Linked DNA regions of Homo sapiens: all the other regions are linked to region 7. The links are contacts of gene promoters, found by promoter capture Hi-C in blood cells and fetal thymus (Javierre and others, 2016). All regions are on one chromosome and are shown on one strand. Each heading gives the region's core, a stretch centred on a gene start or on the middle of the fragment in contact. The rest is flanking DNA. Distances are from core to core; before and after follow the strand shown. Region 1 overlaps ZBTB20 (zinc finger and BTB domain containing 20). Region 2 overlaps ZBTB20 (zinc finger and BTB domain containing 20). Region 3 overlaps LSAMP (limbic system associated membrane protein). Region 4 overlaps LSAMP (limbic system associated membrane protein). Region 5 overlaps ZBTB20 (zinc finger and BTB domain containing 20). Region 6 overlaps DRD3 (dopamine receptor D3). Region 7 holds the start of ZBTB20 (zinc finger and BTB domain containing 20).

The links. Contacts are between HindIII fragments. The CHiCAGO score rates a contact against its expected background, and 5 or more counts as called.
Region 1: a contact is called between a fragment that was not itself captured here and the fragment with the promoter of ZBTB20 in region 7, in 3 of 17 cell types (M2 macrophages, M0 macrophages and naive CD8 T cells). The highest score is 10.7, in M2 macrophages.
Region 2: a fragment that was not itself captured here is called in contact with the fragment with the promoter of ZBTB20 in region 7 in 1 of 17 cell types (M2 macrophages); the score reaches 6.4 in M2 macrophages.
Region 3: a contact is called between a fragment that was not itself captured here and the fragment with the promoter of ZBTB20 in region 7, in 7 of 17 cell types (naive CD8 T cells, activated CD4 T cells, M2 macrophages and 4 more). The highest score is 7.9, in naive CD8 T cells.
Region 4: a fragment that was not itself captured here is called in contact with the fragment with the promoter of ZBTB20 in region 7 in 1 of 17 cell types (fetal thymus); the score reaches 5.4 in fetal thymus.
Region 5: a contact is called between a fragment that was not itself captured here and the fragment with the promoter of ZBTB20 in region 7, in 1 of 17 cell types (M2 macrophages). The highest score is 5.5, in M2 macrophages.
Region 6: a contact is called between a fragment that was not itself captured here and the fragment with the promoter of ZBTB20 in region 7, in 1 of 17 cell types (naive CD8 T cells). The highest score is 6.4, in naive CD8 T cells.

Annotation. Positions count from the first base shown.
Region 1 is chr3:114,380,703-114,384,337 of GRCh38, reverse strand. ZBTB20 (zinc finger and BTB domain containing 20) reads left to right here. Exons shown (of 12, transcript NM_001348800.3): 9 at 3,398-3,561. The coding sequence starts at 3,551. The region is part of intron 7 of ZBTB20-AS1 (ZBTB20 antisense RNA 1); the gene reads right to left. Among named protein-coding and RNA genes, the nearest start is that of ZBTB20-AS1, 31 kb to the right of the region's middle. The HindIII fragment of the contact is 2,530 bases long and covers 1,012-3,541 here.
Region 2 is chr3:114,499,709-114,503,658 of GRCh38, reverse strand. ZBTB20 (zinc finger and BTB domain containing 20) reads left to right here. Exons shown (of 12, transcript NM_001348800.3): 7 at 3,268-3,307. All of the region lies in intron 1 of ZBTB20-AS5 (ZBTB20 antisense RNA 5), which reads right to left. Among named protein-coding and RNA genes, the nearest start is that of ZBTB20-AS5, 48 kb to the right of the region's middle. The HindIII fragment of the contact is 267 bases long and covers 2,464-2,730 here.
Region 3 is chr3:115,804,036-115,807,940 of GRCh38, reverse strand. It overlaps LSAMP (limbic system associated membrane protein), which reads left to right. Exons shown (of 7, transcript NM_002338.5): 7 at 1-3,905. All of the region lies in intron 1 of LOC124906269 (a long non-coding RNA gene), which reads right to left. Among named protein-coding and RNA genes, the nearest start is that of SNORD155, 99 kb to the left of the region's middle. The HindIII fragment of the contact is 3,005 bases long and covers 1-2,956 here.
Region 4 is chr3:115,827,168-115,830,622 of GRCh38, reverse strand. All of the region lies in intron 6 of LSAMP (limbic system associated membrane protein), which reads left to right. The region is part of intron 1 of LOC124906269 (a long non-coding RNA gene); the gene reads right to left. Among named protein-coding and RNA genes, the nearest start is that of SNORD155, 76 kb to the left of the region's middle. The HindIII fragment of the contact is 759 bases long and covers 1,816-2,574 here.
Region 5 is chr3:114,401,690-114,405,345 of GRCh38, reverse strand. The region is part of intron 7 of ZBTB20 (zinc finger and BTB domain containing 20); the gene reads left to right. Among named protein-coding and RNA genes, the nearest start is that of ZBTB20-AS5, 50 kb to the left of the region's middle. The HindIII fragment of the contact is 1,188 bases long and covers 1,045-2,232 here.
Region 6 is chr3:114,155,933-114,159,606 of GRCh38, reverse strand. The region is part of intron 3 of DRD3 (dopamine receptor D3); the gene reads left to right. Among named protein-coding and RNA genes, the nearest start is that of DRD3, 21 kb to the left of the region's middle. The HindIII fragment of the contact is 2,698 bases long and covers 869-3,566 here.
Region 7 is chr3:115,145,926-115,149,565 of GRCh38, reverse strand. ZBTB20 (zinc finger and BTB domain containing 20) reads left to right here and starts at 2,278. Exons shown (of 12, transcript NM_001348800.3): 1 at 2,278-2,347. RefSeq lists silencers at 1,283-1,502, 2,063-2,232, 2,543-2,812 and enhancers at 1,553-1,762, 3,493-3,602. The HindIII fragment of the contact is 9,545 bases long and covers 1-3,457 here.

The DNA.
Region 1 (3,635 bases), core at 1,027-3,526, 770 kb after region 7:
TATTCTTAAGTCCTTCCCTGTCACCAGCCCCCTTTTCCTTTTTCCCTGGTTTCTTTCTTTGTTGTTGTTGGCTTGTCTAACTTTTTCATTGGAGCTTTCATTTTCCGGTTGAGGGGCGACTTCATCAGAGTGTATAATTTTAACAGAGAGAGAGGAGGAAGGGGTTGGAGAGAGAGAGAGAGAGAAAATGAGAGAGAGAGAGAGAGAATGAGAGAGAGAGAGAGAGAGAGAGAGAGAATGAGAACTGAAAAGAAAGAGACTGAGAGGCCAGAGCCTGGCAAATCAACCTTTGGCATGGTGACCAGGAGGAAGGTTCTGGTCGGGAGTTCGCCTCTCTGAAATCCGCTGGAGTCAGCCAGTGTGCTGCTGCCCTCTAAAGGCTCCAGGGAATAGTGCATCGCCACAGAGGCTTGAAAAGACTTGCCCTCAGATGTGCCATGTTTATAATTCTTTTTATACAGCCTCAAAATGTATTTTCAACTAATTATGACAGGGCTTATTCTTTCCTCCTTAATAAACTATGAACTGCAAAAATGGGGTCAATTCACAGCACCTGTGCATGTCTAGACGTAAACGGGTGCTATGTTTTAGGGTTTCTCAGCTCCGGAAAAAGGAGTCCGAAGAACCATTAGAGAGGGTGAGACAGGACATGAATTGCTTCTGAGGATGGTGAGCAGTTCTCTATTATCTGGACAGTTGGGAAACAGCCCAGTGGTATAAGGGTAAGTAAAGTGATATAAGACAAATAAGGGGGTGAGCCAAAAAGGTTGAGTTGCTAACATTTCCTGTTTATAGAGGTAGCTCCAATGCCTCTGTGCTATCAATATTCTCCCAAAGTGATCACTGAGGCAACAGGAGGGTGTGATACAAGATGTCAGGTAGGAAACAAGAGCGAATCTAGGGAAGGAAACAAGGGCATTGATATGAAGAACAATATAATTTTTGCAGTGTTAAAAATAAAAGAGTAATATATTGGTGGTTTTGCTATGTCCTTATGTTTGAAAGAAAGCTTTCTTAATTTTCTGAAGCACACATCTGAAAGTATCCTAGGCCCTGTCTATGAATATCAAAAATAAACACTTTTTTCTGCTAGGTGACATATGTCATTACTGTTTTGACCCTATATTTAAATGAATCATGAGGGCCAGCCTAGCCTTACTGAGCAAAATAGTCCTGCTCTTATTAAATACCCCTCACAGACTTAAAGCAAAAGCAGCCAGTCAGGTAGTTTTGCTACCTTGCTGCATAAAAAGTAGGAAACTTAATTGGGATTCAGACTATGACCGTTCTTAAAATACACTTTAATTTCAGCTTCATTTCATTCTGTCCACAATCAATTATTGAATGACAGCTTTGTCTAAGCTACATTGCTTAATAGTATAGACAAGGCAGTAAACTCTGGGAGGGAAGGAACCAGTCCTGTTTTATTCTTTAGCCCATGTTGGCACATCATGGGTACATCATAAATATTTGTAAAATGAATATGTAAATGAATGAATGACAGGAGAGAAGGAAGAAGAAAAGAATAGGTGAACACTAGGAATACTAAAATAACTAAGACATTTCCTTACCTTCAGAGAGCTTACAGTCTCACAAGAGGGATATGCACATAAATAGCCATTATTGAAATAAAATTGAGTGAGTGAAATAAGATTAAGAAAAAAAAGAGCTTAGGCATTTCGGAGAAAGACCTAGGGAGGAATTCACTGTGGGGAGTGAAGTCCTACCTGGCAGAGAGGAATCAAGACAGTTATAAGATGAAGACACCATTTAATAAGTATGAAGGATAATAAGTATGATTTCAACAGGGCAGAGATGAAATATGGGATATTCAAAGTAAGAGAAAACTTGAGCAAAGATGTAGAGCCCAGAATGTAGATTCCCAGGATGTTCTGGAGGATATTCAAGAAATCTGAGGGTACAGTATGGCCAATATACAGGACACATGAGAAAAGTTAGAAGAGATACGGAACTGACCTTGAGTGTCAGGCTAATGTAGTCATCTTAGATTTAGTGAATGCAAAGAAACAGGACTAGAGGAGTGAAAGAGGTTGGAGAGCCAGTTAGTAAACAATCAGCTAGATAAAAAGCAGTAGGTGATTGCAGTGAAATTGGAATGGAAACACAGATGTGAGAAAAAATATGAAGGAAGCAGAACTGTAAGAACTTACTGATGAATTGGCTTTAAGGCAGAGGAAGGTGTATAGTGACCCTGAGGTTTCCAACCTGGTGGTAGACAACAGTGATAGAGATATGGACCTTAGAGAAAGCATTGGTTTTAATAAAGGAGTTGGGCTTTAGCAACTTTGATCTTGGCTACATCTTTAAACTGAAAATCAGAATACCAGCTCCTTCAGGGTCCATGTAGACACTCAAGATTTGGGGGTTACTCCCATAGTCACCATTCAAAAATCAATTGATAAGGTCTTATAATTTGTTGCTTCTCTTGTATTGGCTTCCTCCATACTGAAAAAGATGTCTGAAAGCCTCACCTCTATTCTAATCTTTGCCATGCCATCTCTGCCTCCTGCCCTCTGAAGAAACAGATTTTATTTCACAACCTGTTGGACTGAAAACACAGCATACTAATCATAACACCATATTCTGCGAGGGCAGATTTAACTACCCAGCACAACAAATTTAAATACAAAATATTCTGCATAACAAGTACATTACCATGCTCACAGAAACAAGGGAAACATGGAAACAAATCTACTTACAACAAATTCTGTACCACACATAGTCTTCTACAAATAAAATAAATGCTTTTTCTGGTCATGTCCACATAATGATAGAAAAAGACACAAATCCAAGGGAATTGGAGAAATGTTCAGGAACTATTACTAATAAACCAGTTTGGCTGTGGTCTAGGGTCTGTGTAGTATAAGCTAAGTATTTGTTAATTTCATATCAGTTGCATTGTCCTGGGGAGAGGAGACCTGAGCTGACTGATAGCTGTGCTGTTTTACTTCCTATTCCTGACCCCATATAACAATTAGTAACAATTACTTTCTAATTCCCTTCACCCTTCTCTTCCTCATGTCCCAAACACACAATCACACCCTAAACTCCAGGACGATGCACCAAATCAAAAATCTTAGGCGTAGGATGAGTAAAGAGTTGGAGTAGAAAAATCTCTGCATGACACCTTCCCTCTTTAGCTACTAGAATCTAAGCTCTTCTTTTCACTTTTCACTTGCTACTCTAACAGAAACCTCCCATCACTACCCCCTCATCCGTACAGGCTGCAAATTTAAATTGTGATTTGAAATTTTATTTAAAATAAAATCTTAATAAGAGCAGGAAAGTTGAATGTTCCTTAATGTAGTCCATGAGTAGAAATTTAAAGTTGGAAGGAACCTTTAAGGCCTTCTAATCCAAGCCCTTTATTTTACAGATGAGGAAACTGAAGCCCAGAGAGGTGAAGTGAGGTGCCCAAGGCCACACAGCAAGTTAGAGGCACAGCTAGTACGGTAGCTCAAGTCTCCTGACTCCCAGTCCAGTGCTCCTCCCATTACTCCACGAGTCCTGTCTCTAAGCTTCCTGACAAATGCTAGAACGGTAAAACTTCCACTAGTATTTTTCCAGACCATGTTAAAACTCCTAAGGGGGGAAGAGGGATGCTTTCTTGGATA
Region 2 (3,950 bases), core at 1,348-3,847, 650 kb after region 7:
TTGCTAGATATATTTATGCTTTGAACAAAGTGTGCTTAATGCAAATGTTTTTAATCCTCTGTGAAACTTTTATAGATAATTCTTTGCATTTCAGATAAAAACAACTTATAGACATATAAGGTGAATATCACTTAGGTGGAAAGAGCATGTATCAATGAAATAACAATTTGAATTGAGCAAATATAAATCTATGTAGATTAATACATATTCTCAGAATTACATAGCAGATTATAATTCAGTCAAGAAGTAGGTGTCTTTTGATGCCTATGAACATTTATGAATTGTGTAAGAACTCTGAGATTAAATTTTTAGCCATACTATTAAGTTTGGGATCATATTATCATTTTATATTAACATATAAGTACAACAATTATATCCAATAAAACTTCCATCTAACTTGGCTTTAATTTGTTTTAGACTGTGACATACACACTGTAATTTTTCTCTCCATTTTGGATTCCTATCATTGACAGCCATCCTGTGTGTCATTTGACATCCAGGAAAGATAGTTTTTCATTCCAGACATTGGATGTGTTAGTCAATTTGGGTACAACTTACATTGATCTCTTTTGATCACATCAAAAATTTAATTTTAACTAATTTTATGAATAAATGCACCTTGAAATTTAGAAAAGAAAGTTATGTGTTTAGATATAAGAACATAAACACTAGGTATAATTTTAGAAGAGCATAATATTGTTGAGAGTTATTGGGTTTATAACATGCAACAGAAAAATGATCATTGAACATATTTCATAGAAAATTGCTAATAATATTTTCTTCTTCTCCCCAAGGTTAGAGAAGACAGCAAGTTCAAAAAAGGAGAGGGAAAGAAAGAAAGAGAAATAGAGAGAGAGGAATGTAAGAAAGGAGGGAGGGAGGGAGGGAAGGAAGAAAGGAGAGAGGGAGGGAGGAAAATGGTAAGAAAATATGCCCCTGTGCCATAGTCTAATATCCTGGCTTGCAGAGAAGACTAGAATATAGCAAAACTTAGAGCTTTAAAATCTTTGAAGACTAGTCAGTGTTATATATATATTTCAAATTTGTATGTGCTTTCAATGAATCATACATAATCTAATTCTCTTGCCTAAAATTTTCATTAAACTCATGAATTTTGTGAAACAATTTGAAAGCATTGGAGATCTCCAGCCTCTCTTGTATTAGCATTATAATAATCCAGGCTGGAGATTTTCATCTTAACTCGTCTTGTCACCATCCTGCATCAAGTACACCTGCATGTACTTGAGCAAGGTTTCACATTGACCACAAAGGGAAATCATTTCTTTGAAGAAATCTCTACAATAGTGCAGTTGTCCCAGAAACTTTCCAGGAAGGGTGATGTCTTTAATTGCTGGTTTTCTGCTTTAGCCTTTTCAATGCAAAGATACTTAATCAGGTCCTTCTACTTGATCTCCTTTAGTGAAGTTTGTTTTGCATATTTCTGGAGGCCTTATGTGAAGTTGTTAAAATCATGGTGTCAGAGAGGCAAGATTGAATCACCCTGTATTAAATTCTTGATATATTTAAGTGGGCTAGAGGTAGGGGGACCTGCTTTGTTTTCTCAGTATCTTTTTTTGGTTTATTAATTTGTCATGGCTCTCCTCCTACTTCAGTTTTATCCTTCTAAGAGAAGCTATCAAAACACTGATGGGTCTGGGCACGGTGGCTCACACTTGTAATTCCAGCACTTTGGGAGGCCAAGGTGGGTGGATCACCTGAGTTCAGGAGTTTGAGACCAGCCTGGCCAATATGGCAAACCCCATTTCTACTAAAACTACAAAAATTAGCTGGGTGTGGTGGTGCGTGCCTGTAGTCCCAGCTACTCAGGAGGCTGAAGCAGGAGAATCGCTTAAACTCAGGAGGCAGAGGTTGCAGTGAGCCAAGATCGTGCCACTGCACTCCAGCCTGGGTGACAGAGGGAGAGTTCATCTCAAAAAAAAAAAAAAAAGAAAGAAAAAAAAACAAAGCACAATGATGGGCAGACCAGTCCTATAATAGTTTTTTTTTTTTTTGGCCTGTGATTTTTTTTTTTTTGACGGAGTTTTGCTCTTGTCACCCAGGCTGGAGTGCAGTGGCGTGATGTGGGCTCACTGCAACCTCCGCCTCCCAGGTTCAAGCAATTCTCCTGCCTCGGCCTCCCAAGTAGCTGGGATTACAGGCGCCCGCCACCATGCCTGGCTAATTTTTGTAGTTTTAGTAGAAACAGGGTTCCACCATTTTGGCCAGGCTGGTCTCGAACTCCTGACCTCAAGTGATCCACCCACCTTGGCCTCCCAAAGTGCTGGGATTTACAGGCGTGAGCCACCGCGCCTAGCCTGGCTTGTAATTTAAAGAGTGAAATATCAGATTTTAAACATAGAACAAGAACACTGTTAGGGTCAGCTTCTCCAAAATCTAAAATTTTCATCATTTCATCTGAAATTTTCATCACCAAACAGAGTTGTGTTTGGTGGGAGAGAAGCTTTGTTTAAAATCACTTTATCAGATTATTTTCCACCATAGAGGGGACATTCTAGGCTGGTGAGAAGGGGTAGAGGCAGTTTTAGAAGGCAAGTCCGGGGCAAACTTAGGACTGAGTTCTTAGCTACACACGAATGTATTGAATTTGTTCAGAGGAACTTCTGGACATTAAACATACTAAATATACCTTAAAAGAGACAAAGTTTATCAGGGTTTGACTCATCTTTGTCAAAATTAGCTAAAATTGGTCATGTACTGTATAGTAAAGCTTTTACCTATTCTAGTCAGTGCTGCCCAATAGAAGTTTCTACAATAATAGAAACATTTTCTATCTGTGCTATCCAGTAAGGCAGTCACCAGCCACATGTGGGTATTGAGCACTTGAAATGAAGCTGGCAAGACTGAGGAACTAAATGTTTAGCTTTTTATTAAATGTTAAATAATTTAAATTTAAATAGACAAATGTGGCTAGTGGCTATTTTGTTAAATGGTAACATAGCTCTACCAAATCCTATATGATACAGATTAGAATGAAATGAACAAAGAAAGGTCTTTGCACTCCTTGTGCTGGGAAGTACTGTCTTGGTCATCATAGCAGGGGGTCATACCTTTAGAAAGTTTTTATGAAGCTGGGTCTCCTTTATTTTGAGGCTAGAAGTGACAAAATAGGCTCCTTTAGGAACAACCAGTCCCATCTATGCCTAGATTTGCTTTCTTTCTTCCCACTGTATCATTTTGCTTTTATATATTGGTTTTGCATCATATATCGGTTTGCTTTTAATTCCTTATTTTTTCTTTGATTTTCAGATCTTTGACCATCAGTCTGTGACCTGCCCCTTCTCTTTACGTAAGTAAAAGTGATTTCTTTACCTTTAAAAAAAAAAGTGTCAGATTTAGGAAATTGTGGTTTTCACTGGCATATTTCCTAGTTGACTTTGTTGTGGTTTCTAGTGCTTCTGTAGTGTGTATTAGTTTCTTTTGCGTTTGGAGTGTATGCTGTTGGTGGTAATACTAAGTTGCTATCCATGAGGGTGCAGAAAATACCAGTGGCCCAGATACTGTACTTCTATAAAGGCTGCCCTTTACTTGGCTGCAGCTGCTGTTTGCAAAAGTCACTGCTCTTTTAAAGTATAGCTTACATTATTCAGCCAAATACCAGCAACAGTTGGGCTTTTGCTCCCCTGTCAATCATTGGGCAATTATGTATTCTTCAGTTATGTACCCATCCCTAGGTCCAATAGTTTTTAATTTTAACTTCTAGATCAGAGCTTTCATTTATTGACAAAATTTCTAATATCCCTTTACTAAGAAGTACAAGACTGTAAAATAAATAGACTAAACTTTTGTGCAAAATTATGAAGTCTACAGGGGAAAAAAAGAAATCCCAGATTCACGTGTGCCAGAAGGTTTATAAAGGTACCACTCTTTTTTAGAAAAGATGGAAAGGTATTCGGGGGGAAAAAAAAACACGATTTTATATGAAAAAAAAG
Region 3 (3,905 bases), core at 205-2,704, 660 kb before region 7:
AAATTCAGCTTGGGGATGGTTAAGAGTGTTTATAGCAGATTCTGACATAGGAGAGAAAACAAATTCTCATCCAAGAAGGTAGCTAGTAAAATATAGGGAAGGTGAGCCATATTCCTATGCAGCATCAATTTATTGACAATCAGGTATTTCTCTTAACAGTTTGGTCTTCTTAGTTCAAGAATAAAGGGTATCATCTTTAATAATAAGCATTCCCCAAAAATTGAAGAGGCAGTCACACACTTAAGTGTGTGGCTTTAGAAAAGCGCATGCTAATTTAAAGATATACAGGAAGAGAAAAGTAGGAGTTAAGTTGGATGTTGTTAGAAGTTGGATGTTAGTATTACCTTCAGGAACAGATCCCCATGGCATGTCACAGGCCTTAATTATATACCTGGCTTTCTTATTGTCTCCACTTTATCATGAGGACAAGGTCTTGGTTTCATGGGAGGAACTTCTCCATTGAAATAAATGTCTGCCATGTCAGCACCGTTTGTTCCCTCAGTTTTAATATAATGGACCATATATTAAACATAATTAAACATATATTTAAATGTGGTGTTTGCCTGTGTCTCTAGCAGGATCTTGAAATTTTAAAAATTTGCTTCTGGTTCCTGTTTCAGAGAAAACATTGTCCCCAGAAATTTCATAGGATTGAAAGTGTTCCCTAAGCAGTGTGAACAATGGAGGAAAATATAGTTTAGAGAAAAGTCAGGGAAAGGTAGGGCCAGAGGACTGACACCAAGAAATCATTGAATCTCAACATAAGACTTCTTGGAATTTAGTTAATCATATTGGAATAAATTCCTTCAAGAATCTTGTCCCTTGGTAATCAAAGTTTGAAACCCCGCACTGAAAAGCACCAACTGGTTGGAAATAATATACTGAGAGGAGTGAAATTCATCAATTAATCTGAGTGGCTAATATATTTAATATCCTTTGTATACAAAGTAAAACTCCACCATTCGTAAAAGGAAATCCTTAGACCCAACTTTCAGTTAACAAAAACAGAAATGACTTTGACCCAGGGTGCTTCCTGAAGAATGAGAACTATCCAGGGCTTTACAACTGCAGAATTGTAATTATGCTCTGTGCAATTGTTGAGCAAAGGTTTTGCCTTGCTGGATAAAAAGTCTTGTTTGTTTCGAGACATGAAATCCCCATGTCTTAAAAGAACTAAGGCTTATAGAAAAGCAGATGGGTTTTCTCTCAGGAAGGACTGCCCCATTGACCTTTGCCTTCTCTTCCAAGTCAGACAGACTTCTCGCTTGCCATGGGCATTTTTTTACTACATAGTCAGACTACTGGGGCTACTTATAGAGACCTTGTAAAAGTACTCGTGATTTTCACGTTCTTGGAGGACCAAACAAAAATCTGTTTCTCCTCCAAAAATGGACTTACCTCCTTTGCACACAAAAGCTAAACTCCTCAGCATGAAATTGTTTGAGTTATTACTTTACCAAGTTGTGAGCTTCTTGAATCCTCCAGAGTCGCAGATTCCATCCCTGAGTTGGTTGTGGTTTCACTGTTTCTATTGGCTATTCTCCCTGAATTTTTCATTTTGTTCTTTGCAGGGCTCGAATTATTTGTGGAAAACAATAATATATATGTGTGTGTATTTTTTATCTTTATAGATGCTATATTTACAATAATGTATGTATTATAAGACAAATTAAGAATAATGTTTTGATCTTAAAAGGAAGAAAAGTACTGAATTTGGTTGTTTAGAAAGAAAATCTATGCTCACGTAGAAAGACATAGAGCCCCACTTTTTCCGTTTTGTAATTATTTGGCGAAAAGAAATTTGCTTATAGACTATGTTTAATGGGATTAACCATGTCCTCATTTTTCTTTTCATCCTCATACACTTTTAGCCTGCATTTAGTCTTGGTTACCAATATCATTTTTTAAGAGAAATGTAAGTACAGTGCTATATCTTACCTACATAAACTATTAATATTTTGAAGACAAATGTGAAACACACCACAAAAATGGTGAGATAAGAAACAAAAATGCAGTTTAGGAAGCCTCCTCCTTGCTTAAATGTTTAGAATATTTCTTCTCCAAAGACTGCATTTGCCTCAGTGATGTAAATTTTCCATCATGGTTGGCATAATATCTGTAAACATCTCACTAAATGCAAAATGGAGTTTACATTTATGTGCATACTAGCAGAAAAGAAGTAAACTATTCTCATTTGCATGTAGCTATGCTGTTCAAATGTCGCCAACCAAAATTTAGGAAAGAATTTGTTTTCACCCAGCATGTACATCTCACTTTTCTCTTGGCAAGGAAGCTGGTGTTAACGTTGGGTTTAGGTTTAACATTTACACCAGCGAAAATGTTTATGAATATTATGGAAAACTTATTTTAAACCTTGATTTCTTTTGAGCACATTTACATGCTGCGTGCTGATTAATAAATTAGGCACCAATCATGTGTAAATCAATGTAAATCACTAGTTTATGTACATAATATAAACTATGTAAACTTCATTTTTCATGCAGTGCCCAACTACTGCTAAGGTTTACTATGATTCTTAAGGAAAAAAAAATCAAATAAAAATAAATAAAAACTGAAACGTTTCACAGTTCAGAATCGGAAGAATTACGACTAAAGCTCCAAATATGAGGTTGCCTTAGCCAAAGGAAGCAGACCCACAGGAACAGTTCAAGGTTTATATCCTGCTCAAGTCACCTCTTTGGTCTTTCAGGATCTAAGTGGAGATTGTCCCAACTGTTGCTGTAGTTGTCTCACCCGACCCCAAAGCAAGGGAAATAGAGGGAAAGGTTTTAAGGGCTATATGTCTGCTGTATCCACTCCCAGCTATCTTCTTTTTACTCCTTTCTCACCATCTAAGATGTCTTATTTAAATAGCTCCAAGGAAGTGACCTAAACCTTGATGAGCAAAATATTACTCAGTTTTTATTTTCCATTCAACAAAAGCAGTGGGAAAGCTTGCCATCTGGATTCTAAGAAATTGTGCAATATAAAAAATGTTATATCCTCGAGAAATATCTTGCTGAGTCACCCTAGGAAATAACTACCTTTTATTTATCTGGTAGCCTAATGTTTCCACACATTTATCCTGAATATTGCAAGTGAGGGACTGAATCATTTTTAATTGGGAGTTATCTTTCTCAGGCATGTTCTCTTGGAGTCTTTTTGAAGTGCCTGACACGTGTAACAGGATGACATATATATCATTCCTACAATATGAACAACTGTTACATAAAAAATTATCAAGGAGATGATTTCAGGAAACAAGTGAACTTTCTGCAAAGACTTATAAAAATTTTAGGTCAAATTAACTTCAGGCTTTAAATGCACTAATCTACCTAAGAGAAAAAAAAAGAAAAAAAACAGGAAGGAGTTTTAAGGGCTCATGTGCCTGTTGTATCAACCCCCAAGTGTCTTCTTGGTACTGCTTCCTCATCATCTAAGATAAACTGACAACTTTAAAGTGAGGTAGAAGGTGTATTGAATTGGGAGTCAGGAGAATTGGGTTCTAACCCCAAGTTCAGCCACAAATAAAGCTGTGAGACATTGGCAAGTCATTTAACTTTCCTGAGTCTTGGTTTTCTCATCCTGAAAGTGAGGGATTCGGCTGACGTCTCTAAAATCTCTTTCAACTCTAACCTTTATTCTGAATAAGAATTTAATATTCACTTAGTGCTGTGCCCAGCACTGTTTGTAAACAGCAGCTGTTTGTTATCTCTAGTTTGGTCTCTGTATTCTCATCACTTCTCAGAACTATCATTCTACCGTCTTCATTTCTAAACCCAAAACTGCTAGAATACAGGGACTCTGGACTGGGTCTGTAAATTTTTTCTGATCAAAACTTTATAGCAGTGTAGAGAAGGGACACATTCAAATTACACTAAGGACATTGACATAGCTGGGGTTGT
Region 4 (3,455 bases), core at 946-3,445, 680 kb before region 7:
AATAACAACAGCTAACATACATAACGGCCTTCTCATGTACCATTAGAGTTTAAAGGGCTTTTGCCTGTATTAACTCAACTCCCAAAACCCTAAGAAAGAAACGTGCACCTTTCTCCCACACTTTTTAATGATCAAAGGACACCTACATTTCAACCTACCCCTTATTGCACCCAGGCACATATACAAATCTATAGTATATTAATAATCACCCTTGTGTATACATTCATGTTCATTAGATATGCATCTTTTCAATGGATTTTAAATGTTCATCTAATTTGTTTTATGTATTGCAATGCTTATAACACTCAGTTACTTTAACGTCTGTACATTTTTACAAAATCTATTTTCAAATATGCTTAGCACAGTGAGATGTATGCCCAACTCACACAGATTTATATGAAAGCATTCATTTTTTAAAAACTTGAGCAGAGCTATCTGGCATCGGTACATCTAATTTCACACACTTATTCAGGCTGATTTACATATACACCTCTATTAATCATGGATAATTACTTGCATTGTTCCTGTAATTCAGTTTTTCCAACTGTGAAATGGGAAAGAAATTATATTTTTCATGCCTACAAGCTCAAAGTGGTATTTTAAATAATATACAAAAGAGAGCTTCAAGTTCCTAGAAGGCATATTGAATTTAAAATAATCATATTCAGATACACATGTGTCTTATAATTTTTAAAAGCACTGATATTTGCAGGTATACTGGTATCATGTTGCATGGACATCAGCTAGATATAAGTTCAATGTATTCTTATTATATTTTGATGTATTATGGATTCTAAAGATTTCTGAAATCCCCACACTGCTGAAGTTTTAATGTAGAAGCATCCTAAGGCCAAATAAAAAATATTTTTCATTATTTTCTTACCAATATCATAATATTACATTTAAGAAGAGCTGCAAAATTGCACACAGTTCCTGGTTGTGTGGCACACACATATACACTCACACACTTTCAGCGGATGCCCTTCATACACAGTACCACATGACTGCCAACCCATCAGCCTAAAGGACCTGCCCTTTTTGCTGGTCAAGGGTATAAAGTATGTCCTAGGAAAGATTTCCCTTTTTAAATATGTCTCTCCTTCCCACTGGTTAGCAGAAACAAGGACTTTGTTACTACAAATAGAATTTAGGCAGACATGTCAGCACCAATTTACAACAAAATGATTGGCTCTGATTAATACACATGAAAATTATTGAGTTGACCTTCATACCTAATTCCCTGGCTCGTTTATGGGAACAATAGTCTGATTTCCTTCTGATTTTCTTTAGTGGTTAGAGACTCAAGCGGGATAATTGTACCAATATTTCATGTGGAATCAATGGTTCACTCATCAATCCAATGATTTTGACACAGTGTAATAGGGAGGTTTTCTCCCCATTTCTGTGTCTTATCTCCCCCACCTCTTTACTCTTCCTTCTACTCTGTTTCCTAAACTGTTGTTCTCTCCCCTGCTAAAAGTTGCTAGCAAGAATAAATCCAAAATTTATTCACACCATTATTTAAATGTTCAACAAGGGCTTGGAAGTGTTATTTCTCTCAAAATTTACATTTAGCTTCAAGCTAAATGACTAAAAATCCTACAGAGTCAATTTAAAGATAGGAGAATGTTTAGTCCTTTCTAGTGCCTAGAACTCCTTTCTAATGCCTCTTCCTGGTTTTCGAATCTGGATCTGCCTGCACCAGTCAGCCTTTCCTGGTGAGCTCCCTGTCCTTAATGCCTTGCTGTGCTATTTAGATGTCTAGAGCCAGCAGGGATTTGAAAATGAATATTTTTTTTAACAAAAATCCAAGCTTCCACTAAATTTTAATTTGATAGAAATATTGCTCTTCTATGAGCTTTATAGAAAAAAAAATTTTCAAAGTAACAGTTACATTTGGGGATTAGGTTTAAGTAATTGGCAGTCTTGTCTTTTTAATTAAAAGGAATAAAGCTGCCTAAGAGGAGCTCAATGAAATTTTGCAGCAGAAAATGTTGGCATGCTGCCCCAAAGGGTGAGAAGACCAGGATCTTGATGGACAGAAAACTGACACAGGCTCCTCTGGTCTTTAGAGTGCACGGCAGCACTGCTTGCTCTCGAGTCTGCCTCATGTGCCAGTTAACATGGGCATAGCAGTCGACTGTGAGAAACATTGTTGTGTTTAGACAGGAAGGAAGTCCTTCCTTTGGGAACTTAGTTCTGGGTTCAGAGACTGTATGGAGTGAGAGTCCTTTTTAAAAAGTGGTAGTACATAGAGGAAACAAATAAACAAACAAACAAAAAACAACAGCAAAAAAAACTCTCCCAAGTATTAAATCATCGAGATAGTACCAGCCCCTGACAAATGTCTTATGATAACCCAAAAAGTATGAACCTTAATTTTAACCTGTTCCTTGGCTCCTTTCTCTACATTTTCCACCATATTTACCAGGCATTACGTATGCATGTTCTCTTTGACATCTTTCAGACAAAACCAAAGAAAAGGTTTTGATAGTATTGACATTCACTTCTAAACACTGGTTACTAGCCATGCAAGCACCACCAAGCCCTTATCCCACCTATCTGGAGAAAGCTTTGACTTCTGAAGAGGCAAGATACAAATTAAGCTTAGTTAACAATTTCCCTTATACAGTCATTGCAGCCTCATGATATTCTTTCATCATCACAAGTTATTTGTAGGTATTAAACTAAAAAAGCACCTTGATGGGGAAAAAATCAGTATGAGAGATCCCACCTTACACCTCCCCTTGTATACTGCTGTGAAGAAACACACCTGCCAAGTAAGAACACAGCATGGCATAATGAGTTTGGAATTCCAATTTAAGGTGTTCCTATGTACTGAGATGTATGATGGGAGTAGGCAGACTACTCACTAGGACTCCACGGAGAATGTCAGCTTATATCCACCACAGATCAGTGGGGAAGAGACCTTACAAGTCATTTATCATGCTTCCTAATTGGACCCTGGGGAGCCAAGCACTGCCATAGTTTACTCTATAGTTTCGCTTATCACTGTGCTGATTGTAAAAGAAAATGCTTCCCACATCTCTGTAACACATACCTATGATTAGCACCCAGACATTACCACTGACATAGTCTCTTTACTATCAATCACAGCTAATAGTTCATTCTACTTTTTATCTGCCCCATACTCGCAATAAAGATTCTGACTTAAGCACCCACCTTCTAAACCTCGGAATCTCAGTATGACCTTTTTAACTGCCTAAAAAGCCTAAAAAGACATTTGGAGGCAATAGTAGCATCCTGTAGAAAAAAAAAAAAAAAAGCAGTAGAAAATAACCGTGCCTTGGCCAAGTGTCCATTCTGTTTACCATCCCATGCTCCTTAGCTCACACAGCAGCAAGCATTCCCAGCCATGTTTTATGTTGGAAACTTGCTTGGCCATCCTACAGTGGTTTTTCAACTATACGTGTGGGTTTTGTATGAGTTGGAAG
Region 5 (3,656 bases), core at 389-2,888, 740 kb after region 7:
TAGCTATGCCCCATGTTCTCTCTACTAAAATGTAGACATTTTAGCTTCATAATTAATGCAATTAAACTTTATGACACTGTATGTTGCTATATCCAATGACTAAACTTCTTTTAAGAAACAGAGGATCTCTTCTCCTTTATTGGAAAAAAAAAGTCAGACTGTTTTAACACAATTCCTCCCGTACATGGCTACAACTTTTCTCTTACATACCACAGCTTCTATATTGGGCTTGTTCTTAAAGCTAGGATTTTTTTTTTCCTCCTATGAGGACACTGCAACCCTTGAAAGTTTTTCTCTGGTATTCTCTGAGTGCTTCCTAGATACCTGGTTTCAGTGACTCCAGTTATCACAAGGACTAATTTTCACTTGCTATCCATGAAAATTTTCGCTGGGTCAAACTAAGTTGGGTCAAACTAAGCTGCTTCTTGGAAATGGGGCTTATGCTAGTCGTGAGTTGTGTCCAGAGGGAATTCTGAGCAGTAAAAGGAGGCAAACTGAGGGCATTCTAGGTGAAGGGAATTAAACCAGCAGAGAATCAGGGCACAGATGGAAAAGAGCGAGTCATGGGTAACCAGAGTGCCTAGTCAGGATATGATATAAGCTCCGGGTATTGGGTTTTCTGTGTAGCTCCTTTGTTTATGTAAAGCTAGCTCGGCAGGCTCTGGGCCTTCTTGGCTTTGAGGATGCACTGACCTGAGAGCTATGGGGAAAAATAGCCACGTCTGTACACCAGACTATAAAGCCAATATGTACCATTCTCTTTGAAAATGAAAGACAATAACATATGAAACTATTATTGATATAAGCTTTTATTTAGTCTTTTCTAAGATACCAGGGTATTTTTATGACCTGTTTTCTTCCCCTCGGCGTTAGGATGTTTTCTTATACTGCTTCAACTGAAGTAAATTATTCAAACAGAGCTGTTTTGTTTTATTTGTTTGTTTTTGTTTTTGCAGCTTTATGCTTACCAGGGACTTCATAAACAAGTTGAAAGAGAAAAAATAGCCAAGACATAAATATAGAAATAACCCAATCACATAAGCTTTCATGAGCATGGGTGAGGGCCTTGTGGGAAGGATGAGGAAAAATCTTTATTAGTACCAGAATGATCGTGATTACCTTAGGCATAAGTCTGATTTGAGAAGAGACACTGATATACAAAGAAAGGAAGGATTATTCCCCTATGATTTGTCCATGTGTACAAGGAAAAATAGCTTCAGTATTTACTATTTGACTTCTTGAGTCCAGAAACCTAATACTCACTGCAAACTGCATAGGCACGGAGCAGGAGAAAGCAAGTATTTACCAAAACAAGAGGAAAGAGGAATTACTCTTTCATCTCTTCTTACTTTAGAATCATCAAATGTTATTACTGGAAAGAATCTTAAAAACCATCTAATCTAACACTCCCACATTATATATGAGAAAAATGAGACTCGAGAGAAGTTTCATGACTTGCCCAAGGTCACACAACAGATTACAAACGTGGCTGGGGACCCACATATGATAAATAGGTGCCCTTCATTTCTTCAGTTTCTCCATAATCATTTTAGAGAATTATTTGACTTATCCCACCAATGTTGTTTTGTATATCTGGATTATCATCTGGCTTCTCAGTTAATTTTTTTGAAGTGAAGTTTGCTTTATAATAACTGCCAGATTCTATAGCTGATTCTAAAAATTAAAATGTGTTCTCAGACATATCCTGAGTGTTGTACAAATATGGAGACGCTCACTAGATCAACATGTATGCCTCCTTATTTTATATGAATCCTATAATACCTATAAACGTGGCCTGATCATATTAGACTCTTGAAGTTTCTAGAGTTCCAGATATTTGTTGGAGCATATAAATAGGTGAGAGCAGATTTACGCATTTACCCACTCTGAGTCCCTGAGACGTTCCTGAACTGCTGTGCCTTTGTAAGTCAGTTATTCCCACTGCTATCGATATCACCAGTTCCAATTATTACCAATATGGCCCATTACTACAGACTGATTTCTTACTAGGTTCAAAACCAGCTGTACTTGGTGTTTTACTGATATTTTGTTCAGTGTTAGAGGAGAAAGAACATGGTGAGAGTCTGGCATAGCCCAGCTCCCTTCTGTGAAGAAAGAGTCCATCACTGACAATAGACATTCAATAAGTGGTTATTTAAAGAGGTCGAAAAAAGCATCCACCATTTCTCTATTTCAAAATAATCAATCATTTAAAAATATTAACTACAAGCTTCTGATGCAATGTTGTGTGGTTTGTTGTGCCACATATGGTTATGATGATCTACACGTCAGCTACAATCCAGAAATACTCTCATTGTTACAATGCAAAATAATATAATCATCCACTTTTACATTTTAAATGTGTCTGGCCCACCAAGTCCTTGCTTAGGTGCCAGACACACCACTGTGAAGGAACTGTCTGACATAGTATCCTGAAATTTCGGGTAAGTATAATCATCTCCCAGATGCATAGAATAAGCCTGGTTTTTGAGGCAAAGAGAAGAGGCAAACCTCCTGCCCTTCCAGAAGTCAGAACCATTCAGCAATATATTCACAGTAGCTAGGGGGGAAAGCCTTTGTGAAGAAAACTGTTGTGTCTCATGGCTGTTTTTATTAAAACATTTAGTCCACCAGCTTTCCAACTCTACGAACAATTTAATTCACAAAGCACATGAAATAAGCAGAAGAATCTAGTCCCAACAGCCATGTTCCACCTCTGTGATCCTCGTCGTGAGTTAGGATGATTTAGTCGTCAAGATCCCTGCTGTTCTGTGCTTGGATATTTGTGAGGAAAACCTAGAATTCATCCCCTTTAGAAGCCATGTCCATATGGCATGCAGCAAAGACCATTAGAGAACAGTAGTAGGAGTTTTGTTATCAAATCCAGCCAGATTTGCAGATAGGAATACTGAGAAATTAGTATTTTTCCTTCCTCTTCTTCTCTCTTTTCCTTTTTAGCCTTTTTCTTTCTCCTGTTTGCTTCTTCAATTCAATACTCCTTTGTTTATGGATTTGGAGAGTACTCCAAAAGCAAATAAGCCAATCAAATCCTGTTTGGAGGGAGAACAGCCATTTTGACATATAACCATCTCATCACTCCTTTTTATATGCCTAAACAATTGAAGAGCATGTAGCATAGCCAGGTGCTGGTCCTCAAAGTGGGTGTGCCCTAAAACATTCTTTGGTTTGAACTAGTCTAGTCCACTGTTTCATGTTACTGAACAATCAAAAGAGAAAAGAAAGTTTTTCTTCTCTGGTTCTAGACCAAATGACTGGCAGGATGTGATTGCCATCTGTAATTTTCTGCGAAGTCCTTCCCCAGTCCAATTTACATGATATGTACAGCTACTTCACTCTGAGAATGCACACTCAAAAAATACAGCCTTTAAGTGATTTTTCCTAGCATGGGCAAGGTGAAGCAGTGAGGAAATGGACGTATATATGTTATACATTTATATTATTATTCCCCATAAACTTTTAAACTTCCTATCCAGCATTTGTATTTGTTCTCAAACAAATTGGTAGTTTAAAGAAAATCCTACCTTTGTGATTTTTCAAAAATCATTTTTCAGCCTCTCCTATTATTTTTTTTTATTTCAGTAGCCACCTTAATGGGTAGCTGAGTGGGGATCAAGTATAAAAAGACCTCATCATGT
Region 6 (3,674 bases), core at 968-3,467, 990 kb after region 7:
TGCAGGTGAGAAGAAACCCCTGCGACAGGTGGGAAATAACGACCCTATAAGCTTTCCTGGCCTTTCTTCTCCTCCAGCTCCCTGAAGAGGATTCTGGTTTTGCTTTTCCACCATCCTTTGGGGTTTTTTTTTTCTTCCTAATAGGAAGGAAAGCTTCCCATTAGGGAGGGGGAGAAGGAGGAAAGGTGAGCTGACTGGGGTTGGTAGGAAATTCTGTTGTTGTTTTGTTTGTTTTTGTTGAAGGGAGAGATGGAGAGAAGGTGGGAGAGAGAAAGAGAAAGAAAGAGGGGCAGGTGTAGGGATAATTTTTGAGGGGGAGAGAGGAGAGAAGTGGGGGAGAAAGGCAATTTTAGAAAGCATGGCTGTGATCTATATGTTTCTCTCATAGAGCTTAGAGAAGCAAGTATAGTATGTTTTTTAAAATTACATTTTGGTTGCTGGGGTGAATTGCTGTGATTTTGACTCCTCTCTCTGTGTGTTCTGCCTGAGTAACATTGCTTTCTATCCCTGAGAGCACCTGGACTCACCACCCTTGCTCTGGGTCCCTCTGTTTCTCCCTTCCCCTCTCCTTTTGTCTTCCTCTCTTCTTTCCCCTTTCCTCTGCCTGAGCCTGAGATTTGCCTGGCTCCCCTGGGACATCACCAGCCTCACTGAGAGCCCTGGGGGAAAGGAGGTCACTTTCAAGCCTATGGCCCTTGCTGCCAGTCAAAAGCCTCCTCCCATTCCTGCTCTGAGTTCTCTCCCTCCCACTTTCCATTCCGCTTCTTCTCCTTCTCCCAGTAATATCATCCATCCACCTCATAGCTCCAACAGGTGACCCCAAATAAGATCTGCCATTTATTGAGAATTTATCACATTGTGCTAAGCTTTGACACACATTAACTCATTTCATCTTCACAATTCTTAGGTACTGTTATTATCTTATGTATTATCTTAGGTACTGTTATTTTATGGTATAAACATTGGCTACCTTCAAACAGGGACCACTGAATTCAGCTGAATACTCTTTGTTCAAGACTCTGTAATGGGCACAGCAGGGAAGGTCACAGGTGATCAGGAGCTAGGTCTTGTAGAAGAGTTTGGGGTAATGATAATAAAGCAAACCAGCTGCAGTCCTCTATGTCTGCAAATAATGCACTCCTGAAAATGTGTACTAAATGTCTAGAAATTACACAAAAGACTTAGATATTAGAGCTAAAAATATTCTAAAATCCCCAACTCTTCACTTTTTAAAACAGCTTTATGAAGATATAACTCACATACCACACAATTCATCCACTCAAAGTGTGTAATTCAATGTTATATTGGTATGTTTACAGACTTATGCAATTATATTCCTTTTTTTTTTTTTCTTTTTTGCAGAGATGAGGTCCTGCTATGTTGTCCAGGCTGGTCTCAAACTCCTGGACTCAAGCAACCCTCCCATCTTAGCCTCCCAAGTAGCTGGGATTACTGGCACATACTACTGCATCTGGACCCCTCTTTTTTTCTTTTTTCTTTTTTTGAGATGGAGTTTCACTTTTGTTGTCCAGGCTGGAGTGCAATGGCACGATCTTGGCTCACTGTAACCTCCACCTCCCGGGTTCAAGTGATTCTTCTGCCTCAGCCTCCCAAATAGCTGGGATTACAGGCATGAGCCACCACATCTGGCTAATTTTGCATTTTTAGTAGAGATGAGGTTTCTCCATGTTGGTCAGGCTGGTCTCGAACTCCCAACCTCAGGTGATCCACCCGCCTCAAACTCCCAAAGTGCTGGGATTACACGTGTGAGCCACTGTGCCTGGCCTACCCCTCTTTTTTAAACACACTCTTTAATGGTATTATTTTCAGCATTGTGGACATGTTCTTTAGCTTTCTTCTCAGTTGGCTAGCCAACCAAGTGATATAAATAAAAAATCATCCAATTAGCTGATTGGTTTGCAGGATCACCAGAGCAAAGTGTGTTCATATTCATTTTTTTGGTTATTGTTCAAAATTCCCACTTCAGCATGTAAAAGGAAATGTGAGGCTGTTGCTACAGAGGGCACAACACTGGGCCAATTGAGGGGGCCTGTGCTATGACCTCTAGAAAAAGCAGGCTGGAGATGCCACAACATAGTGACAGAGAAAGCATTGTGAAGTTCAAGGGTGACTGAATCAGACTGTGGGAATGTGAAAGGGCTTTATGGAAAAGAGGATCATTGTGATAGACTTTGGAGCATGAGAAGGGTATGGGGCAACCTGGGAAGAGATGAAATTGAAAAGGGGGATTGAGGCCAGGCACGGTGGCTTACTCCTGTAATCCCAGCAATTTGGGAGGCCGAGGCAAGAGGATCGTTTGAGGTCAGGAGTTCGAGACCAGGCTGGCCAATATGATGAAAACCCATCTCTACTAAAAATGCAAAAATTAGCCGGACATGGTGGTGGGTGCCTGTAATTCCAGCTACTCAGGAGGCAGAGGCTGGAGAACCGCTTGAACCCGGGAGGTGGAGTTTGCAGTGAGCTGAGACTGCACCATTGCACTCCAGCCTGGGCAACAGAGCAAGAGTCTGACTCAAAACAACAAGAAAGAAAGAAAAAAAAAGGAGAGAAAGAAAAAAAGAAAGAAAGAAAGAAAGAGAGAGAGAGAGAGAAAGAAAGGAAGAAAGAAAGAAGGAAGGAAGGAAGGAAAGAAGAAAGGAAGAAAGAAAGAAAGAGAAGGAAGGAAGGAAGGAAAGAAGGAAGGAAGAAAAGAGAAGAAAAGAAAGAGAAAGAAAAAGAAAGAAAGGAAGAAAGAAAGAAAAGAAAGAAAGGAAAGAAAGAAAGAAAAAAGAAAGAAAAAGAAAAGAGAAAGAAAGAAAGAAAGAAAGAAAGAAAGAAAGAAAGAAAGAAAGAAAGAAAGAAAAAGAAAGAAAGAAAGAAAGAAAGAAAGACAGGCAAGCCATATTGTGGAAAACATTGAATGCCAGGCAGTGGAGGTAATTCTAACTTTTATTCAATAGGCCAAGGAGGCACTGAGGGATTTTGAGTAAGGCTTTACTTCTAAGGGAATGATTTTGATAGTGCTATGAAGGACCAGTTAGAAAGTGCAGCAGAATTTCAGGTAAGGGATCATAGGATCCTAAAATAAATAGGAGGAAACAAGAAAGGAAAAGTAGGGGAAATTTTGAAAAAAAAAACGGCAAAAGGTCTGTAAACACCAACCTCTTGAATATGAAAGATTAGGAAGAGAAAGGAGTCAAACAGAACACAAGATTCCAGGAGAAAGATGCTGTCAAGAAGAGATCACCATGTCGAGACGATTTGGTGCTTTAATGGTTTGGTTTTTAACATCTGGCATAATAGGAACAAGTGGACTATCCAGGAAGTAATGTGATCTGGAACTCAGGGGAGAAGGCAGGGATGTAGTTGGAGATTTAGGGAGGTTAGCACAAAGTTTAAGATTACTAACTTGGAGTCAAATAGACATGAATTCTAATCCTGGCACCGCCCAGTACTAATGGTGTGGCTTTGGCAAATTCCTTAAATACTCTAAGAAGTTGGAAATTGAAGATAACAACAGTACCTAAGAATTGTGAAGATGAAATGAGTTAATGTGTGTCAAAGCTTAGCACAATGTGATAAATTCTCAATAAATGGCAGATCTTATTTGGGTCACCTGCTGGAGCTATGAGATGGATGGATGATATTATTGGGAGAAGGAGAAGAGGCGGAAG
Region 7 (3,640 bases), core at 1,029-3,528:
ATACTTATTATTCTTACTAAATCACTTTTTTTCTTTTTCATTTTTTTCTTTTTTTGTGAGACAGGGTCTTGCTCTGTCACCAGGCTGGAGTACAGTGGTGCGATCTCGCCTCACTGCAAGCTCTGCCTCGAGTTCCAGCGATTTTTCCTGCCTCAGTCTCCCTAGTGGCTAGGATTACGGGTGTGCGCCACCACATCCGGCTAATTTTTGTATTTTTTAGTAGAGACGGGGTTTCACCAGGTTGGCCACGCTACTCTCAAATTCCTGACCTCAAGTGTTCCGCCTGTCTTGGCCTCCTAAAGTGTTGGGATTACAGGTGTGAGCAGCTGCACCCAGTCAATATCACTTTTTAGCTAAGATTTATATATAAGTTTAAAAGTGTTTTGGCTTCCAAACTCACTAGCAATTCCCAGACTTCAAAATTGACACCACACACAGTAATTTTCTGGATTCTCAAAGCCTCATACATATAATCCTCACAAGATAGCTTTAATAGTATTAATGAGGTCAAGGCCCTTACTTTTTTTTTTTTCACCAGGGCCAATTTATTTTGCTTAGTTTCTGTCAAAGACCTCTAACCAGGCATCTTATGTGAAAGCATGCTGTACGTTCCAAAGAAGCCTGGGTTAAAATCCAGATGACTTAAGTCTATTGGAAATTATACATCAAATCCATGTCCTAGAAACAATGTCATTTTCAAATCCCAAGTACAGTGTATTCTTTGCATGCATGGTATTTTTGATAAAGTCTCTTATTTTGTGACAAAATATTGCTATATCAGCTGCCTAAAAAAGTGCAACTTAGTTTGGCAGTAATTATTTTTTTTTCTTTGTATAGTGAAAAGCGATTTCCCCAACCCTCCCATCTTGGCCCTTGTAAGAAATCCTTTTTAGGAATCTATCCTGGGCTTCCTGCTGGACTTCAGCCTCATTTTTTTCTCCAATGCCTGAGTACTGGACCAATATTTGGTAAGAATTTGGCTCTGGGGAGTGCTATGTTGAATGACAAATGGTTGAGGACGAAGATTTTATTGAAGCATTTGAACCACACTTAATTTTCCGTGTTGCTTTATTTGTTCCTTTTACCACCCAGGATATTGAATTCTGTGGGCTCTGGTTGAGTCGTTGGTACTTCAGGCGTTCAGTAATAAGAAACATAATCTGCTTTTTCCGGCAGGATAATAAATCTCATTTATATTAAGGGAGGCTTACTCCAAACTCTTTTACATAGTATTTTTCTAAATCTTCTGCATGAACAAATTCTTCCTTGAGCCCTAGCACTGGGGACCCGGTCTGGCAACCTGCGCCCCATTCCGCGGGAATCAAGCGTGACCCGGTGCGGCCTTGCGCGCTGCCGCCAGCCAGACCCTCCCTCCGGCTTTCCCACCCACCGCCCGGGATCCAGCCTCCATCCCGCTGCCTCAGCTGTCCAAGACAGCGACACCCCCCTCTCCGCTCCCGCGGCTCCCCCGGCGCAGCTCGCCGCGCCAGACAGCGGGTAACCGCCGCCTCCGCTGGGGCATCCCGGCTCCACAGGCCCAGCGCGCTCCAGACACCTGCCTCTCACTGGCCACCGCCGCTGCCCCTCACCCCGCAGCCCTCTCGGCAATTGGCCCCAGGCCGCCGCTCGTCATCCTCAGCCTTCTCCTAGAGTACCGCCTCCGTCGCCGGGTCATTTAAGTTTATCACAAATAAATAAATAAAGGAGGAAATAGAAATGCGTAGAAAGTAAAAGCAGTAGGGGGTGGGGGAGATGGGGCGTGGAGGAAAAGGAGGGAGGAGCGGAGGAGTAAGCAACCTAACCTGATTGCGCCTGTGTCGACCAATCATGGCTCACTCCAGTCCGGTCTGACGGGCTCCCTGAACCAATAGCCTTCCACCTCCCGGATCACTGAACAACGAGATACGATTGACCTTTTCAGAAAGGGTGAAGGTGCGGCGGGGGGAGGGGGTTGTGGGGGTGGGCGAAGTGGAAGGATTGTCCACCAATCGCCTGTTAATACTTCTCTGAGCGAAGTTTCCGCGTCCCAATGGATGTTTGAGATAGCGGATTGGGCCTCTTTTAGCCCAATCGAAGGTGACAGAGATGAGGGAAGAGGAAGAAAGGGGCGGGGACGGGGGGGCGGAGGGGAGAAGGAAGAGTGCATTTTGTTTATGGGCGGCAACCTCACGAGGGGCGTCCCATTCTCATTGGCTCACTGAAGCCAAGATTGGCGTGAGAGCTATCCTATAGCGGGGAGAGATAGAGGGTTCGCGGAGTGAAGCGTCCAATGTGGGCCTTCTGCCGAAGAAGTAGGGGCGGGGGGAAGTTTAGGAGTTGAGGAAAGAAGATTAAAGAGCGCGAGGAGGTAATGCCACAAACTCTAATTTGTTGTGGGACGGGCGGGAGAGAGGGAGGAGTGTGTGCGTGCCGAGGGGGATGAGGCGTCTGCGAGGCGCCTGGAGTGGGGGGCGGCGGGACTGGGAAGGAGGGGAGCGGGGTGGGGTTGGGGGAGCGAGTTACAGAGCGGCGAGCCAGCGGGCCCTGAGCTGGATGAGCGCGCGCGCCCCCGCGCCCCGCCCCGCCCCGCCCCGCCCGCGCCCCCTCCCCCGGCGCCCTTCTTAGCGCCCGGCGGCTGCCTCGCCCGACCCGGCGGGGAGGTGGGAGGGAGGCGCGGGAGGGTCGAAGGGTGGCGGGGCGGGCGGGACGTCCCGCAGCTGGAAACGTGTCTTCTGCCTTCTTCTCTCTACTCCCTGCGCCTGGAGCCGCTGCTTCCAAGAAGAGGAGCTGAGGGGGACTAGCCGGGGCTCAGGAGCTGCTAGAGGCGCCCGCTTGTCTTCTGCCCCCTCCCTCCTCGCCCTCCCCCGCTTGCCGTGGCTCTCGCGGTCTCTGGAGCGTCTTCAGAGAACTGGGGGGCAGGAGGTGTCCTGGCCCCACAGCCGCTGGATGTCTCTCCAGACGCCGGAGCTCCCGGCCCCCGCCTGCTTCGCTTCTACGACTAGAGAGGAGGGGGCTTGGGAAGGGAAGACACACCTTTCCTTCTTTCTCTTCTTTGGGCCACTTCGGAAACATTAAAACATGTTAACACTTTTTGATTCCTGATATAAAAATGGTTGGAAGGTTCTTGAAAGTTTAAAACAAATGCCGTCTCTCGTACACTGTTTAATGTATTCCTGTCTGTGTGGCTTTTGGGTCCTCCCCCCACCCCCCGCCCCCAGCTGTTATCCTTTTTAAGGATGCTGAAGAGGCAGGAGGCAGGGATTTTCTAAAAGTTCTATTGATAAACACACTTGCACAAACATATGCTAGGCACACACACAAACTAAACATTAGCGAAAAACACAATATGGCGTACAGCTACGGTACCTAGCGCGGTAATCCGCTGATCTCTCACTCCGAACTGGGTTGAATGAGGTCAGTAGCAGGATGACAGCTCTCCAATGAAAATCTGAATGAATCAGGAAGTAGTTTGGAAGCTTGCGGGTGTAGTACTGTCCTCAGAATCAGCATTGGCCAAACCTAAGTTGAACATGTTACCTTTCTAGACATGTGAAAATCTTCTCCACTGTTTTTTCTATTAAAAATACCAAAAGGGTGCTAAAGTCAAGTTTCCTCACTGCGTGGCGGTGTATACATTTCAGCTAAAAAAATTATAGAGGCC